Regions from separate parts of the Homo sapiens genome. Here region 2 is linked to region 1. The links are contacts of gene promoters, found by promoter capture Hi-C in blood cells and fetal thymus (Javierre and others, 2016). All regions are on one chromosome and are shown on one strand. The core of a region is centred on a gene start or on the middle of the fragment in contact, and the rest is flanking DNA. Distances in the headings are between cores, read along the strand shown. Region 1 holds the start of RCN2 (reticulocalbin 2). Region 2 overlaps HMG20A (high mobility group 20A).

The links. The method cuts DNA at HindIII sites, captures the fragments that hold promoters and counts their contacts. A CHiCAGO score of 5 or more calls a contact.
Region 2: a fragment that was not itself captured here is called in contact with the fragment with the promoter of RCN2 in region 1 in 1 of 17 cell types (naive CD8 T cells); the score reaches 5.1 in naive CD8 T cells.

What each region holds. Positions count from the first base shown.
Region 1 is chr15:76,930,318-76,933,509 of GRCh38, forward strand. RCN2 (reticulocalbin 2) reads left to right here and starts at 1,432. Exons shown (of 7, transcript NM_002902.3): 1 at 1,432-1,668; 2 at 2,044-2,149. The coding sequence starts at 1,525. RefSeq lists a silencer at 1,125-1,874. The HindIII fragment of the contact is 17,303 bases long and covers 1-3,192 here.
Region 2 is chr15:77,477,695-77,480,886 of GRCh38, forward strand. It overlaps HMG20A (high mobility group 20A), which reads left to right. Exons shown (of 10, transcript NM_001304504.2): 8 at 601-816; 9 at 1,485-1,627. The coding sequence ends at 1,621. Among named protein-coding and RNA genes, the nearest start is that of HMG20A, 58 kb to the left of the region's middle. The HindIII fragment of the contact is 1,135 bases long and covers 1,066-2,200 here.

The DNA.
Region 1 (3,192 bases), core at 182-2,681:
GTACCTTGTAGCCTACCTTTTATAACTGGAGTCACGCCGGAAGCTGGTCAAAGTTTACCTTTTACTTATTGGAGAACAACAGGTACAAAGCAGAGTTTCTTATATTAAATTGGGACATTTTTCTCTTTTTTTCCTCAAAACCGAGAATGGAAGTGAAAATTAAAATCCAGCAATAAAGGGTTTTCTTTTTAGTTTAATGAAATCAACTCTAAAATTTGCTTTTATTTATATTCTGAAATTTAAAACTTTGTTCTTCGTTGATCTTTATAACATTGGAAAGATTGAACTTACACTTTGCTCTGTGAATCTTTCAATGGTTTGTGACCAAACCATAAATTTCAACCCGACCCAGGAAATTTCTGCGACTTGTGCCCACCCAGTTTTGCAGTTTGGAACAGAATTCTTGCTCCCAATCCAAATAGAGACTGAGAGAAATGAAAGAGGACCCAGAAAGCCTTTTCTTCTCTGTGAAAGGCCTGATCCTAAGTGGCGCAATCAATAAAGAAAAGGGTTCAAGGTGCAGCCTACAAATTTCTTAGAGTTTAATGTGTTCAGGTTGAGGTGGAGAAATTACATAAACCTGTGAATAGACATGGAATAGAAGCCATGTGTATATGCATTCTGTCCCTAAAGGTTTTGCTAGGTACTTACTAAGCTATTCCTTCTGTGCAATCATCTTTCGTTTTTCTACTTGTATGGATGAAAGCCTACCTTCACTGAACACTTCACCTTATGTGCCAGCTATTGTTCTAAACCCATTACATTATTTAATCTTCACGACAATTCTTTAAGGTAGTCTTATTACTATGCTCATTTTATAGATGAGCAAACAAGTTTTCAGGGGTCAAGAAATTTGAGCAAGTTCACATTAACTTGTAAATCACGAAATTGAGCATCAGATACAAGCATCTGGCTGCACTTCCTGAGTTTGTACGTCCTACTCTCATAAAATAGATACATTGAAGACTGAGAAAGAATACTGTTGGCCGATTCCTCAGGCAATAATTTTTTCGATATTGTATTGTTGTCTCAGAAACCTCCAGCCTCTCTCATTGATGGACGGTAGGAGGGGCACATGGAGTGGACCAGGAGTGGGCAGGAGTGGGGTGGGGGCGTGCTTTTAGAAGCGTTTCGGGGGAACGACAAGGCGCGGGTCGTAGAGGTCTACCCTCTCTGCAGTCCCAGCATGGCTCCTGGAGCTCTCTGGGCGGCCGCTGACCCCGACATCGCGGCGGCCCGCCCCCAGCGCCGCGCTGCCCAATCAGCGGCGCGGCCTGGTGCCCCGCCACTCCGCGCCGGCCATATAGGCCTCCTCCTGGCGCGCCTCCGCACCGCATTGGTGGACCGGCCCCCAGCCCGTCCATGGGCGTTGTGGCCGCCACCGCAGGTTCCGCCTCCCGTTCCCTCCGCCCTCAACGTACGTCGCACCGCCTCTCTGTAGCCGCCCGCGGAGCATCGCAGCCGGCCCGGGCCCCCGCCAGCCTCCCTCCTCGCGTCCCTCGGTGTCCTCCGCGGGCCGGCGCGATGCGGCTGGGCCCGAGGACCGCGGCGTTGGGGCTGCTGCTGCTGTGCGCCGCCGCGGCCGGCGCCGGCAAGGCCGAGGAGCTGCACTACCCGCTGGGCGAGCGCCGCAGCGACTACGACCGCGAGGCGCTGCTGGGCGTCCAGGTGAGGCGGCCAGGCCGGTGCTGGGAGGGCCGGGCCTCGCACCGCGGCTGCCGCGGGCTTTGTCCCGGGACAAAGGGGGGCGGCCGGGCGAGGCCTGGCAGGGGCGGCCTGACAATGGGGGCCGGGCGGCGCGGCACTCGCTCTCTGGGGGTCCTGGGGCCTGGAAAGCCTGAGGAGATAGCACGGCCCAAGAGCTGGATCCCTTCTACCCCTCAGATCATGGAGGGTGTGTAGGGGGTAGGGGCCTTGAAGTGCAGGTGCGGGTCACCCCGAAACCCTTTGGCAAGGGGGTCTTCTAGTAGCCCTGTTTTTCTCCACCATTTTGCCCCACTGATAGTAATGCTTGGCCCTCCTGTGTGTCGCTTCCCCCTAAAGGAAGATGTGGATGAATATGTTAAACTCGGCCACGAAGAGCAGCAAAAAAGACTGCAGGCGATCATAAAGAAAATCGACTTGGACTCAGATGGCTTTCTCACTGAAAGTAAGGACTGCCCTACACGACTAACAATGGAGACAAACACAAATATGTTAAGCAGCGGTGTCTGCTGAATGTATAGATTGCTAGTGTCCCAAGTTGGAAGTCCTGTGAGAAGGAGAAAAGGACATGGAGAATAGGCTTTATACTTACAAATCTTTAGACACTGAGAACCAAGTAAAACTCGGTGCTTTCTCCAGTTATATATAAACATCATTGACCCTGTACTCTATGTGGAAGTCACACCTTGAGACACCCTCTTTCTCACGTGACTTTTGTTAGTGTCAACAATATGATTTATTTTAGAGAAATATGCCCCAAAACTTTAAGGCAGTAAATGATTTATCGCTCTTTTGATATATGCTTCATTTAAATTTTAGGAATTTGCTTCTTTTTTTAAGCAAGTAGAAAAAGACCTGTTGCCTGTGAATTACGTTTATTATAACATTATACCAAAATGTTAGAGCTGGTAGGGGCCTTGGGATCATCTTGTCCACATCACTTTGTAGAGATGAAGAAATGAAGCACAGGGATAAGTGCCTTCTACAAATAAGTGGCAAAGCTGGACTAGAATCCAGGTATCCTGCTCTTAATTCAGGTTTTAATATCCTTCAGTTAAAAAAAAAAATCTGATGCTCTCAGGTAAATTCTCTAGTCAGAAATGAAATGCACAGACTATTAAAAGAATGTTCTAAATAAATTGCTGTGCAGTTGTCTCTCCCCATTGTTCAATTCAAATGATGTTCCCTGTCAGCGTTCCAAGTGGGTCCTCAGAAAAATTCAGGTTGTTATTGTGACTCTTAAGTTAGCTGTTTTTCTGTAACTCTCATTTAAATGCTGTTCACCATCAAGGAATTAAGTTGCTGGAGACAATTAAAAACTGGTAAATTTAAGATGTGCTGTCAATGACATATTCACATTGGAACCCTCTGGAAGATTAAGGGCTTTTTTCTTCCACTTAGTTAGACAATAATAACAAGACCTTTGGTCTCTGATTATCCAATCTAAGAATAAGTCAATCTTTGGTTATACTAGAGTAATCAAAGAAC
Region 2 (3,192 bases), core at 383-2,882, 550 kb after region 1:
AATTCATTGCTCAAAAGCAATGGTAGTGTTATCCCTCCTTAGGACTACTCAAAGACCAGTGAAGGAAAGCTAGGGCATTGTTGTCAAAGCTTCTTTGGTCTCTGGATGAAAGGAAATAAATGCAAATCACAAATTCACTTGTCTTCAAACTCTTAGCCTGGAACCCCTTGCACAAATAAAAACTTACATGGGAGTCCAAAATATAAAATAAGTAAGAGCAAGTCTGATCCCATTGTGGTAAAGATGGGTACCTACAGCTGTGCTTGGCCAGTCTCCCAGGATCCCCCTGCAAAACCCCTCAGGCTTCTGATTGTACAATTTAAAAAGCAAAAACTAACAAACAAAAAAATACTGGGAATTGAAACTGTTTGTTGCAATCTTATGTATGGAATGTGACTAGCTTTAAGAATTAAAATAGCTCTGGGGAGTCAGGCGTTTCATTGCTGAAATTGCTATCTGGAATGCCATAATGAGAATAGGGAGATGAGGTGGGGTAGCTAAATTAGAGGCAGCTAAGCAGAACTTCCCTGTAAGAGTCATTGGGACTCCTCAGAGACTCCTTCTAGTGCTGCATGTGTTCTGTGGGATGTATGTCCTCAGCTCGGGAAGCAGAGCTCCGCCAGCTTCGCAAATCCAACATGGAGTTTGAGGAGAGGAATGCAGCCCTGCAAAAGCACGTGGAGAGCATGCGCACAGCAGTGGAGAAGCTGGAGGTGGATGTGATCCAGGAGCGGAGCCGCAACACAGTCTTACAGCAGCACCTGGAGACCCTGCGGCAGGTGCTGACCAGCAGCTTTGCCAGCATGCCCTTGCCTGGTAAGTCCTCCTGCCTGAGAACTGTCAGTGACAGGGGTGTGTGTGTTGTGTGGAGTGGGGTGCTGTTTATGTTAGTACTGGTGTGGAGAGATTGAAATCTCCTCCAGAGGAAAATTAATTAAACTACATTTTTTCTTCTCTGGATATAATAGAATGTCAGTATTGGCTAAAATCGTCCAATGTTTCAGGCTCTCTGGTCATTCAAATTTTTGTCCATTTATATTTTAATATCTATTTTCCCCTCTTTTAAGCTTAATTTGCTATTCAGAACACTGGAAACTGAGTAGTAAATCTTGAGAGTGTTTCTTCTTATGTATGTTTGTTTGCTTTTTAGTTGTTTTTGTTTTAACGGGAAGGAAGGGAGAATGAACACTGGTATTTCTTATATACTCTTTCATTTTGAAGATAGTCATAGCAGAAAGCTGAGCGAGTCTAACCTTCTGTTACATGCAGCTGCTCATATATACTATACAGCAATTATATAGCCCATCTGTTTATTTAGAGTATGTGGACTAATTTCATTTCTTTGAGATCTAAAAGTCTCTCCTCTAAAATTAAAAGCATGTCTGTGGAGCAGACCACATTAGAATCACTGTTTCTTTGAAATTGTGTTTTATGGTACAACTGAATAGGGAGGATTTTCTTACTTTCTTCTTATCTCACTTCAGGAAGTGGAGAGACACCTACAGTGGACACCATTGACTCATATATGAACAGACTGCACAGTATTATTTTAGCTAATCCCCAAGACAATGAAAACTTCATAGCTACAGTTCGAGAAGTTGTGAACAGACTCGATCGTTAGGGAATGGTGAGTGCTCACTGATAAATATTTATATGCCAGCACATCATCAAAAATAAGATGTCATCAGACTTTATCAATACTACTAAAACCCTGGGATTACATTGGATGAACAAGTTGGAGACTTGGTTAAGATTCCTGTTGCATGGTTGTTAAATGTAGTAAATAATATTAGAAAAGAGAATCACTGTAGTCCCAGCTACTTGGGAGGCTGAGGTGGGAGGATTGCTTGAGCCCAGCAGTTCAAGTCCAGAGAGATCCTGTCTCTAAAAATAAAAGAAAACAGACTCAAGACAGTTTTTTCTTATGCTTGCTTCAGAATGGTTTAATGGGAAAAGCATGGTTTTTGTGGCTTGACCTCATTTCTAGCTTTGTCACTTATTAGCTGTATTCTTGGGCATTAGTTTCCCAAAAGGTTTTGAAAAGTGAGTGGGAAACTTAGAAGAAATCATCCCCAAAACAGCACTCAGAACAAAATAAATATAACTTAATTTTTAATCTTCCTTTTCTCTGGAAAATACTAATGATAATTTAGAAGTAGTCAGTGAGACATTGTATGTATGTGAGCCTACATAAGTAGGAAGCTTTTATATTCACCACTCAATAACACAGTGACTGTTGTCTGTTAAATGTTGATGTGGACTCACCATACAAACAGGTAACTCCCTGGTTTTGATAGATTAAAAAATAAACTCTTCAGCCAGGTGCAATGGCTCACACCTGTAAGCCTAGCAGTTTGGGAGGTCAAGGCAGGCAGATCGCTGGAGTCCAGGTTCAAGACCAGTCTGGGCAACATGACAAAACCCCGTATCTACAAAAAATACAAAAAATTAGCCAGGCATGGTGGTATGCGCTTGTGGTCCCAGCTGCTTGGGAGGCTAAAGTGGGAGGATCACTTGGGCTTAGAAGGTCAAGGCGAGGCTGCAGTGAGCCATTATCAGACCACTGCATGCCAGCCTGGGTGACAGAGCAAGACACTGTCTCAAAAATTTTTTTAAATAAAAAATAAATAAACTCTTGGTGGGGCACAGTGGCTCACACCTGTAGTCCTAGCACTTTGGGAGGTTGAGGCAGTATTGCCTGAGCCCAGGAGTTCAAGACCAGCTTGGGCAAAATAGTGAGACCCCTGCTTTAAAAAAAAATGAAAAAAATTAGCTGAGCATGATGGCGCACACCTATAGTCCTAGCTACTCAGGAGGCTGAGGCAGGAGGATCACTTAATCCCAGGAGTTCAGGTTTCAGTAAGCTAGGGTCACACTAGTGTATTCTAGCCAGGGTAACAGAGCAAGATTCTGTCTCAAAAAAAAAAAAAACAAAATAAAAATATAAAATTCTCAATAAGCAAAAAAGAGAGAGAAAATAAGTTTTTAAAAAATATGTTCAACAAATGAGCAGTAGTATGTATCCTTTTTTTTTTTTTTTTCCAGAAGAGATCTACCCATGACACTTTTTGGTACTAATGGTCATTTCTCAAATGGAATTGGTATTTATTCATTCAAATTCCTAGAGATAGGATACCCCTTTACTATGCCATCCCACAAAACTGGCATCCCTTTGCTCTATTGGTTAAGTTA